2 separate regions of the Homo sapiens genome follow, and region 1 is linked to region 2. The links are contacts of gene promoters, found by promoter capture Hi-C in human tissues and cell types (Jung and others, 2019). All regions are on one chromosome and are shown on one strand. The core of a region is centred on a gene start or on the middle of the fragment in contact, and the rest is flanking DNA. Distances in the headings are between cores, read along the strand shown.

Region 1 (5,378 bases), core at 737-3,236, 95 kb before region 2:
TGGGTGTCACATTATTCATATGGGTTTGGAGACATTGCTTCCTCACAAGCAATAGGAGGTCCTTATTTTTTTAGTAGATATGAGCATTTCACACAGCCTGTACAGCGGCCTAGCTTTTTATTATTCATCTGAATGCTCAAATGAGCCTATATCTTGATTTTAGTATTCACTCTAGAGTCAAGGTTTTTCCTACCAAGTGTCGACTACTATTTTCAGCAGTTTCTTTAGGCCACATCTGGCTGGCTTTAAAAATCATCTCATTTGAATCGACAGGGTACTTTTCTTCTTGTCTGTTAGCATCATGTGGTCTTTATCAGGTTTTTCTTTTTTTTGAGGCTTAGAAAATCAGATAACTTCTCTATTATCACAAAGAAAATATGTGTTGTACTCAATTCTAACCCAGGCCTGTGACTTTTTTTTTTTTTGAGACGGAGTCTCACTCTGTCACCCAGGCTGGAATGCAGTGGCGCGATCTCGGCTCACTGCAAGCTCCGCCTCCCGGGTTCACACCATTCTCCTGCCTCAGCCTCCTGAGTAGCTGGGACTACAGGCTCCCACCACCACGCCCGGCTAATTTTTTGCATTTTTAGTAGAGACGGGGTTTCACCGTGTTAGCCAGGATGGTCTCGATCTCCTGACCTCGTGATCCACCCGCCTTGGCCTCCCAAAGTGCTGGGATTACAGGTGTGAGCCACAACGCCCAGCCACCTGTGACTTCTAAGATCATGCTTCCAAGCTCTCCTGCCTCATACATTATACATGAGATCAACCCCTGCTGTAGTCCTCTGTTCACCCCTCTTTTCTGTCCTTTCTTGTTGTTACTTCAGAAAATCTTCAAACTTGAAATCTTTCTGTTAGCATTATGAAGAGGCTCGTCATCTTGCCCCATCCAAATGTTTTGCTAGGGTAAAACAGACATTTTTATTTTTAATGTCTTTCAGACTGGATGACTATGCCTGCCAGTAAGAAATCTACTGTCAAGGCAGAGATTCCTGAAGAAGAATTGGATCAATGGACAATAAAGGAAAGATTCAGTAGCAGTAGTCACTGGAAGTGTGCTAGCCTGCTGGAGTGGCAATGTGGAGGCCAGGAGATCAGTTTGCAGCGAGTGGTACTCACTCACCCCAACACCCCATCACAGGAATGTGATGAATCCGGGAGCACTATGAGCTCATCTCTTCACAGTGATCAAAGTCAGGGATTTCAACCTAGCAAAAATGCCTTTGAGTGTAGTGAGTGTGGAAAAGTCTTCTCTAAGAGTTCAACTCTTAATAAACATCAGAAAATTCATAATGAAAAAAATGCAAATCAGAAAATTCATATTAAGGAGAAAAGATATGAATGTAGAGAATGTGGGAAAGCCTTTCACCAGAGTACGCACCTTATCCATCACCAAAGAATTCACACTGGCGAGAAACCCTATGAATGTAAGGAATGTGGCAAGGCCTTCTCAGTGAGCTCCTCACTTACGTACCATCAGAAAATTCATACTGGAGAGAAGCCTTTTGAATGCAACTTATGTGGAAAAGCTTTTATCCGAAATATACACCTTGCCCATCATCATAGAATACATACTGGAGAGAAACCTTTTAAATGTAACATTTGTGAAAAAGCCTTTGTGTGCAGGGCACACCTTACCAAACACCAGAATATCCACAGTGGAGAGAAACCCTATAAATGCAATGAATGTGGAAAAGCCTTTAATCAGAGTACAAGTTTCCTTCAGCATCAGAGAATTCACACTGGAGAGAAACCCTTTGAATGTAATGAATGTGGGAAGGCCTTCAGGGTGAACTCTTCCCTTACTGAACATCAGAGAATTCATACTGGAGAGAAACCTTATAAATGTAATGAATGTGGGAAAGCTTTCAGGGATAATTCATCCTTTGCACGACATCGGAAAATTCACACTGGAGAGAAACCTTACAGATGTGGCTTGTGTGAGAAAGCCTTTCGGGACCAATCAGCACTAGCCCAACATCAGAGAATTCATACTGGGGAAAAACCTTATACATGTAACATATGTGAAAAAGCCTTCAGTGACCATTCAGCCCTTACCCAACATAAGAGAATTCATACTAGGGAAAAACCTTACAAATGTAAAATCTGTGAGAAAGCCTTTATCCGAAGCACTCACCTGACTCAACATCAGAGGATTCACACAGGAGAGAAACCCTATAAATGTAATAAATGTGGGAAAGCTTTTAACCAGACTGCAAACCTCATTCAGCATCAGAGACATCATATTGGAGAGAAGTGATATGAATGCAGTTTGTATGGAAGACCTTTGAGACTGAGTAGATGAATTATTGAATGTGAGATAATCCGTTCTAGAGAATAACTATGAAAGCTTGCATCAAGATAGTCACTTTATTTACTGAGGGTCAGGTTTCACAGTGTCATGGGGTTTGGGCATTTAAGAATGGCAAACACTCGGCTGGGCACAGTGGCTCACGTCTGTAATCTTTGGGAGCACTTTGGGAGGCCGAGGTGGGCGGATCACGAGGTCAGGAGATCGAGACCATCCTGGCTAACAGGGTGAAACCCCATCGCTACTAAAAATATAAAAAATTACCCGGGCATGGTGGTGGGCGCCTGTAGTCCCAGCTACTCGGGAGGCTGAGGCAGGAGAATGGCATGAACCCGGGAGGCAGAGGTTGCAGTGAGCCGAGATCGTGCCACTGCACTCCAGCCTGGGCGACAGAGCAAGACTCAGTCTCAAAAAAAAAAAAAAAAAAAAGAATGGCAAACACTCCTCATTCTTTAATACTGCCTCAAATAGCAGTACTGTTTGATTTGTCTGAATTACCAAGCATCAGAACCAAAATGGAGCTTCATTAACAGCATTAAAAAATTGGTTTATCAAATTACATTTTGACTATTAGAGAAACTGAAATTGTAAAAATTAAAGCTGAAAAGCAAAGGAACAAAAAGGTAAAATGGCCTACGAGCGTTGCACTCTACTAGATTCTCTTACATAAGAGAGTTGCCAGCTTTAATGGAAGCCTTAGTCCTCTCCTCACCCACACCACCGACACCCAGTGTAGAGAAAGTACGTCACCCACACTTATTTAAACCATGCTTCCTGCCTTTTGCTTCAAACCATCCATTGTCAGATCTCTCTGGTCTGTCTGCTGGCTTCATCCCTGTAGAATCCCTGTGAGACGATTCATTTGCCCCAAATGACCCTCTTCTGACTTAGCAACGCCTAACTGTCTGCATGGTGCCACCTATCACTGCCCCTATGGGGAGTGTGGTGGTCTGGTCTCAGACACAGTCCATGATGTTGAATATCACACCCAAATCCAGCCTTCAGAACTTGGTATCTCTGTCCAGAAGGCACAACTTGATCAAAATTCTTGAGTTATGCATTTCCTCTGGGCTTCAGCTTGACTGATCCTGGGATGGCACCTGAAGGAGGGGCTTTGCCTGTGCCGCCTTTACCCTCCAATTGTTCTGTACTTAGTGACTCTACACATCAGTCAGGGACTTGCTCAGCTTCAGGTGCAATGATCCCACCCACTTACGTTGTACTATTCCCAGTCACCTCCATCTGTCGCTGCCCATTTCTCTATGTGCAATTGATATAAGAGGTGAAAGCCCCAAGGCCAGTTCTCAGAATGCTCTGACCCACTCTCTTCCCCTGGCTGTACAGTCCACTGTGTCCACTGCATTAGAGTACATTTACTACTCCCAGGATAAACTGCTGCATCCTGGTCCTTCCCCTGCTTTTTCTAGGTTTCTGGAGGTAGTAATTCTATATTCATAGGAAAGCAGACAGCTTTGAATTTCTGCTTTTGCATTTGGAAGTGGTCATTTCCTCTCCTCCATCTGGGCCTTCCACTATTTAAAGACTCATGCTGACAGTGGTGAGAAAAATGTTGAGTAATTCCATGAGTCAAGAAGTGGTCACTAGCACCATTGATATTCTCTGGCAAGGGCCATGTCCGTGTTCAAAAGTTTGAGTGGTACAGTCGTCCTGCAAGTATGGTTCCTTTACCCTGTTTTTTTTTTTTCTTTTTCTTTTTCTTTTTTTTTTTTTTTGAGACAGAGTCTTGCACTGTCGCCCAGGCTGGAGTGCAGTGGTGTGATCTCGGCTCACTGTAACTTCCACCTCCTGGGTTCAAGTGATTCTCCTGCCTCAGCCTCCCGAGTAGCTAGGTCTACAGGCACCCACTACCATGCCCAGCTAATTTTTTGTATTTTTAGTAGAGTTGGGGTTTCACTATGTTGGCCAGGCTGGTCTCAAACTCCTGACCTTGTGATCCGCCCACCTCGGCCTCCCCAGGTGCTGGGATTACAGGCATGAGCCACCGCACCCGGCCACCTTCCCCGTCTTTAATCCTTCAGTGCTTTCAGTAGAAATCACACAGATAAGTAACATCTGTGCATCACACACACACACACACACACACACACACACACACAGCCTCTGAGGGCCCTCTCCCTTTTCCTACCACAAGGAATGGAGGAGCCTTCACTACTGCAAGCTGGAATATATCATGCAGTGAAGATGGGAGGCCAAGCAAATTTTTCTGGAAAGTGAAGTGGCAAGTTCCTGGTATGTGGAAGTGCTGTCCGTCAAGTTGAGCAACCCCCTGACCCCTCAGAATGGAGCACCTCACCCCCATGTTACAGAAGAGGATATTCTATATCATGGTAGAACTCAGTGGGCTCTGGGTTGCAACATAGACTTGGAAGCTTCCAGCAGCTTCAAAGTCCAAGTAATCTAAATTCAGCCTTCATCTAATAAAGGCCACCTTTGTGGGCCAGCATCTCCTGTTAGCTGATCAGCAACTCAGACTTTCTTCCCTATTAAGCTGCATGTGAAGCAGTATTTCAAGAGGTTTCTTGGGATTGCTTGTGTCCCATGTCCTCAGAAGTTCATCTGCAGCTTCACGCAGCTGACACCCTCAGATTCCAGAGTAAACCTGAAAAAACCACGTTCACTGCTACAGATGTCTGTCTTCACCCCATCCATGTAATGTGCCAGGTCTTAACTACCACCCCCTTACCTTGAATCCCTGAGAAGCACGTTTCTAAGCTGAGTTGGTTGGTGGTTTTGTCTATCTGTAATGAACGCATGAGAACTACCACTACTTGGTATGTGCCTACCGTTGAGCCAGGACCAAGGCGTGCAGCCACTTGAGTCTCATTCACCTCAGCCGCGGCTCCAGGAACTAGCGTCAGCGGCATTAAGTGCAGGCTGAAGGCCCCCATCTGAGAAGACAGTGCACTCTCCCTGAGTTCGCCTCTCATCAGGCTTGGGTTTTCATGAAATCAGTCCTCCGAGATGCCTGTTCACTCATCCCTGTCTGGAAAGGCAAAAAGTACGTCACTGGCCTATTAGATACGCCCAGGCTGACTTGAATATATTG
Region 2 (5,222 bases), core at 2,607-5,106:
GGAAAGACCTGAAGAAAAGGTAGACTCATTATGCAAATGAAGCTGCACAGGTAGCAGCCTAAGAGCAAATGGTAGCCCGTGGTTAAAGTTTGCACCAGATTTTCAAAGGTGTCAGACTCTCAGTTAGTCTTTCTCAGATCTGGACGAGGGGAGAGCCTCAGAGAAAGCCTATTCACATCTGTTGTTGACTGCACTTCATTTCCTCAACAGATGCAAGTCTCCTCTACAAAAGACAGCTTTTCAGGACTATTCCTGTCTGCAAGCTCTCTGAATAGCCATCTCAAGATATGTCAGGGAAGTATGTTTTGGAGTGAATTATTTTGGTTGCCTTCACACTCATCTCTATCTCAAAACGTATTTATTCCTCTTATTATCTTTCCTCTCTCTCTTCCAGTAAAATTCAAGCTGCATTTGTGCACAGGTTTTGCCAGTTTTGCCCACTGGTGTATTTCCAGAATCTGGCACAATGCTAGGCACAGGATAAGTGTTCAACATAATTTTTGTTGTTGCTGAATGAATCAATAATGAAATCCTATACAGTAATGAAAAGGAATGAACTTTGCATGTATCAAGGTAGACTAATCTAAAAGTGTTTGTGTTGAACACATATATACACATGATACATATATGCATGTATATACACATGATATATATACATATATACACATATAGGCATATACACATATATATGCAGAAATCTTTATATAAAGGGTATCTGCTATATACATACATATTGTATATTGTATAAAAGTTGAATACAATGTACAATTGAAACTATACAATTGTATATTGTATGTATATAGCAGATTACCTTTATATACATACATATTGTATATTGTATGTATATAGCAGGTTGTCTTTTTATAAAGATTTAAAATGTTGCAAAAGTAAACAATGTTTAGGGACACATGCATGTGGAGTAATTATCAAACAAAACAAAGGAATGCTGAAAGCAACTCAGGAAAATGACTTGGGAGCACTGTGAACAAGGCTTCCAAATTTTGGGTAAATTTCTCTTTGGTAACCCAAGTGTTGGGTATGTGGGTATTTGTTTTATTATTATTAAACCATGGGCCTCGCACAGTGGCTCATGCCTCTAATCCCAGCACTTTGGGAGGCTGAGGTGGGCAGATCACGAGGTCAAGAGATCAAGACCATCCTGATCAACATGGTGAAACCCCATCTCTACTAAAAATACAAAAATTAGCTGGGCATGGTGGTACGTGCCTGTAGTCCCAGCTACTCAGGAGGCTGAGGCAGGAGACTGCTTGAACCTAGGAGGTAGAGGTTGCAGTGAGCCAAGGTCGCGCCACTGTACTCCAGCCTGGCGACAGAGTGAGACTCCATCTCAAAATAAATAAATAAATAAATAAATAAAAACAAAAATCTGTGCCTATGAATACATTATCTCCTGTGTATGGTACACATTAAAAGAATTTAAAATAACATAACTATCTTGTGGTTTTGATTTGCATTTCTCTGATGATTAGTAATGTTGAACATTTTTCATATACCTGTTGGCCATTTGAATGTCTTTTTGAGAAATGTCTATTCAGGTCCTTTGCCTATTTTTTTTTTTTTTTTTTTTTTTGAGGCAGGGTCTCACTCTGTCACCCTGGCTGGAGTGCAGTGGTGCTATTTTTGCTCACTGCAGCCTCAACCTCTGGGTTCAAGCAATCCTCTGCGCTCAGCCTCCTGAGTAGCTGGGACTACAGGCCTGCACTGGCATGCCTGGCTAATTTCGTTTATTTTTTGTAAAGACAAGGTCTCACTATGTTGCTGAGGCTGCTCTGGAACCCCTGGGCACGAGTGATCCATCCACTTCCGCCTCCCAAAGTGCCGGGATTACAGGCATGAGTCATTGTGCCCAGCCCTTTGCCCATTTTTAATGGGACTCTTTGTATACTGTTGTGGTTTTTTTTGTTTTGTTTTTTCTTTGAGATGGCATCTCGCTCTGTCACCCAGGCTGGAGTGCAGTGGCATGATCTGAGCTCACTGCAACCTCCACCTCCCAGGTTCAAGGAATTCTCCTGCTTCAGCCTCCCAAGTAGCTGGGGTTTCAGGCATGCACCACCACGCCTGGCTATTTTTGCATTTTTAGTAGAGACGGGGTTTCGCCACATTGGCCTGGCTGGTCACAAACCTGTTATTTGAATTCTTTGTATATACTGGGTATTAGTCCTTTGTTGGATGAGTAATTTATAAATATTTTCTCTCAAGTTGTTGCTTCACTCTGTTGTTTCTTTTGCTGTGCAGACACTTTTTAGATTAATATAGTTGTTTATTTTTCTTTTTGTTGCCTGTGCTTTTGAGGTCTTAGCCACAGACCTCAAAAGCACAGGCAAGAAAAAGAAAAATCTTTGCCTAGATCAATGTCCTGAAGAGTTGTCCCGATGTTTCCTTCTATCAGTTTTATAGTTTGGAGTCTTTAAATCTTTAATCTATCTGGAGTTGACTTTTATATATGTTGAGAGAGAAGGGGTCCAAGTTCATTCTTCTGCATATTATTATCCAGTTTTCCCCAGAACCATTTATTAAAGACGTAGTCCTTTCCTCATTGTGTGTTCTTGGCACCTTTGTTGAAAATCAGTTGGCTGTAAATGGGTGCACTGATTTCTGGGTTCTCTTATTCTGTTCCATGGGGGGGTGTGTGTGTCTATTTTTATACAAATATCATGCTCTTTTGGTTACTAACACTTTCTAATTAGATATAAGCTCACTCCAGTTAGAATGATTATTATTATAAAGACAAAAAAATGACAGATGCCAGTGAGGATTTGGGGAAAAGGGAACTCTTATACACTATTGGTGGGAATGTAAATTAGTACAGCCACTATGGAAAACAGTGTGGAGGTTTCTCAAAAAACTAAAAATGGAACTACCATACAATCCAGCAACCCTACTACTGGTAAAGGGAGAGAAATCAGTATATGAAAAGGATACCTGCACTCACGTTTGTCACTGCACTATTTGCAGTAGCCAAGATATAGACTCAACCTACCAGCAATAGATGAATGGGTAAAGAAAATGTCATACATAGACACAATGGAATACTATTCTGCCATAAAAATGAATGAAATAATGTATTCACAGCAACATGGATGGAGCCGAAGGTCATTATGTTAAGTGAAATAAGCCAGGCACAGAAAGACAAGTACTGCATGTTCTCACTTATATTCGGGAGTTAAAACACTTGATCTCATGGACATAGACAACAGGAGGATAGATACCAAAGGCCAGGAAGGCCAGAAAGGAAGGGGAATGAAGAGAGGTTGGTTATGGGTACAAACATACAGTTAGATGGAAGAAATAATTTCTAATATTTAATAGCAGACTAGGGTGACTATACTTGGCAATAATATTGTGTATATTTCAAAGTAAATCGAAGAGAGGGCTTGAAATGATACCAACGCATAAAAATGATAAATGCTTAAGGTGATGGATACCCCAAATACTGTGACTTGATGATCATTACAGTCTATGCACGTAACAAGCACTCACATGGACCCTATACATTATGTAAATTATTTTGTATCAACAGAAAAGTAATCACAACCAGCGGTGGGAGCTACAGCACACTGATCCTCCTAAATGAATCTAATTTCCGGTTTTGTTTTTTCAAACTACTCCGCTTGCTTAACAAGTGCGCGGGCTGTAGGCAGCACGGCCAGCAGCTGGAGACCTCCTGCCTCGTGTGCGGCGTGCGTACTCCCTCGCACTGCAGCCCCTCCGCGCACTGTCGCCTTTGAGAGCTCTCGTTGGCGGAGGCGGTTCCTCTCCCGGAGTTCGCAGCGCGCACCGCGGCGTCCCCTGGGAAGTGTAGTCGGCGTGGGGCCGGAGGCATGCCGGGAGTGGTAGTTCTCCCGCGGTTGGCGGGGTTTCGGGGACAGCTCGCGGCCTTTCGGGGGTTCTCCTGGCTTGGGCCATCCAGGCTTGGCTAGGATTGCCGGCCTGGGGTTGAGGCGCTCGCAGTGGTCTCTTCCGGGCCGGGGTGGATCCGGGCCTCTCCAGCGAGTGGGCGGCGTGCAGCCTCGTCTGGGCTTCTGGGACCAGCCCTACGCGGCTCGGGCCCCTTGGCCACTGGGTCCCGGGGCGCCGTCCGCGAGCGGCCTGGACTGCCGGAGACCCGCGGGAGGGAGCGCCTCGCCAGGTGAGCTGGGTGCGCCGGGCCGCTGGGGTGGGGATGCCAGCCTTTTGTCGTTGTTCATTCTGCGATTTTCTTCTGTGCATTTTCTTCTGAGTAACGGAAATAATAAAAGCAATAGCTGATGCCCGCCGAGAGCGCTCGGGTGCCAGGCACCAGACTAGCGCATCGCCCGAACGAACTCCGCGCATCCCTGCTAACAGATAGGGTGGCGGTACGCTGTTCCCGCTCTGTCAGGAGGAGACCGAGGCAGAGTGGCGAGGTCATTGCCCCAGATGTAACTGGGGCCTGGGGCTAGGATCAGGATTGCCTTCCCGGCCCTTATGACTTTGGGCAGGTCACGACCTCCTGGTTTTCAGTCTCCGTAACATCTGTAAATGTGAAGATTGAAAATACTGCGTGGAAAACACTCACCGCTTCCTGGGAGGAGGTGCGCTTCGTCGCGTAACCGAGGCCTTGTGTGGCAGCTTCCCCTGGGCTGGTCGAGGCACCCGCTGGAACTGGCCTGGCAGAGCCCCAGGTTGGCTCCATGCTAGGGGGCACCCTGAGTCGCCGCTGCAGATCGCGGGCCTGGAGGCCCTCACACTTGCCCGGCTGCCCCAGGCAGCCTCTTCCCTTGCTTTCTGTGGGGCGGGCACGGTTTCCACCTCTCCCACCTGGGGTTGGTGTTTGGGCAGCGACGGCTGTTTCTGGTTGTGGGTGCCATTAGAGGCGGCACCTGTGGAGTATTAGGAGGGACAGCAAAGCTCTGGCTTTGGGTGGGGACAGTGCCTTAATCCTGTTACCTTGGGTAAAGTGTGGTAAGGCCCGACGAAGATCTAGTAAAGAGGCTGGGAAAGCTGAGTGGTTGGATTATGCTCACAGTTTCTTGGGGAGAACACAGCACTCCACGGAAGGACCACTCAGGGCGAGCAGTGGGGTCTGTCACCAGGGTAGGGATGCGGGGAAGCCTCTTTATCGTGGCTACCATAGGGAGGAAAGGGTGAGGCAGGGCAGGCAGGATGAGGATCAGCTAGCTAGGCTGGGAAGTGGCGCCCCAGGAGACTGGATATTCATTGCGACTTTTAGGTGTGCAGTT

Evidence for each region. The method cuts DNA at HindIII sites, captures the fragments that hold promoters and counts their contacts. A contact is called where the count stands out against the background at its distance.
Region 1: a contact is called between a fragment that was not itself captured here and the fragment with the promoter of ZNF354C in region 2, in 2 of the 25 tissues and cell types used here (bladder and pancreas).

Annotation. Positions count from the first base shown.
Region 1 is chr5:178,963,714-178,969,091 of GRCh38, forward strand. ZNF454 (zinc finger protein 454) reads left to right here. Exons shown (of 5, transcript NM_001178089.3): 5 at 942-2,720. The coding sequence ends at 2,260. Among named protein-coding and RNA genes, the nearest start is that of ZNF454, 25 kb to the left of the region's middle. The HindIII fragment of the contact is 3,078 bases long and covers 448-3,525 here.
Region 2 is chr5:179,056,517-179,061,738 of GRCh38, forward strand. It overlaps ZNF354C (zinc finger protein 354C), which reads left to right and starts at 3,857. Exons shown (of 5, transcript NM_014594.3): 1 at 3,857-4,150. RefSeq lists an enhancer at 4,176-4,711. The HindIII fragment of the contact is 19,620 bases long and covers 1-5,222 here.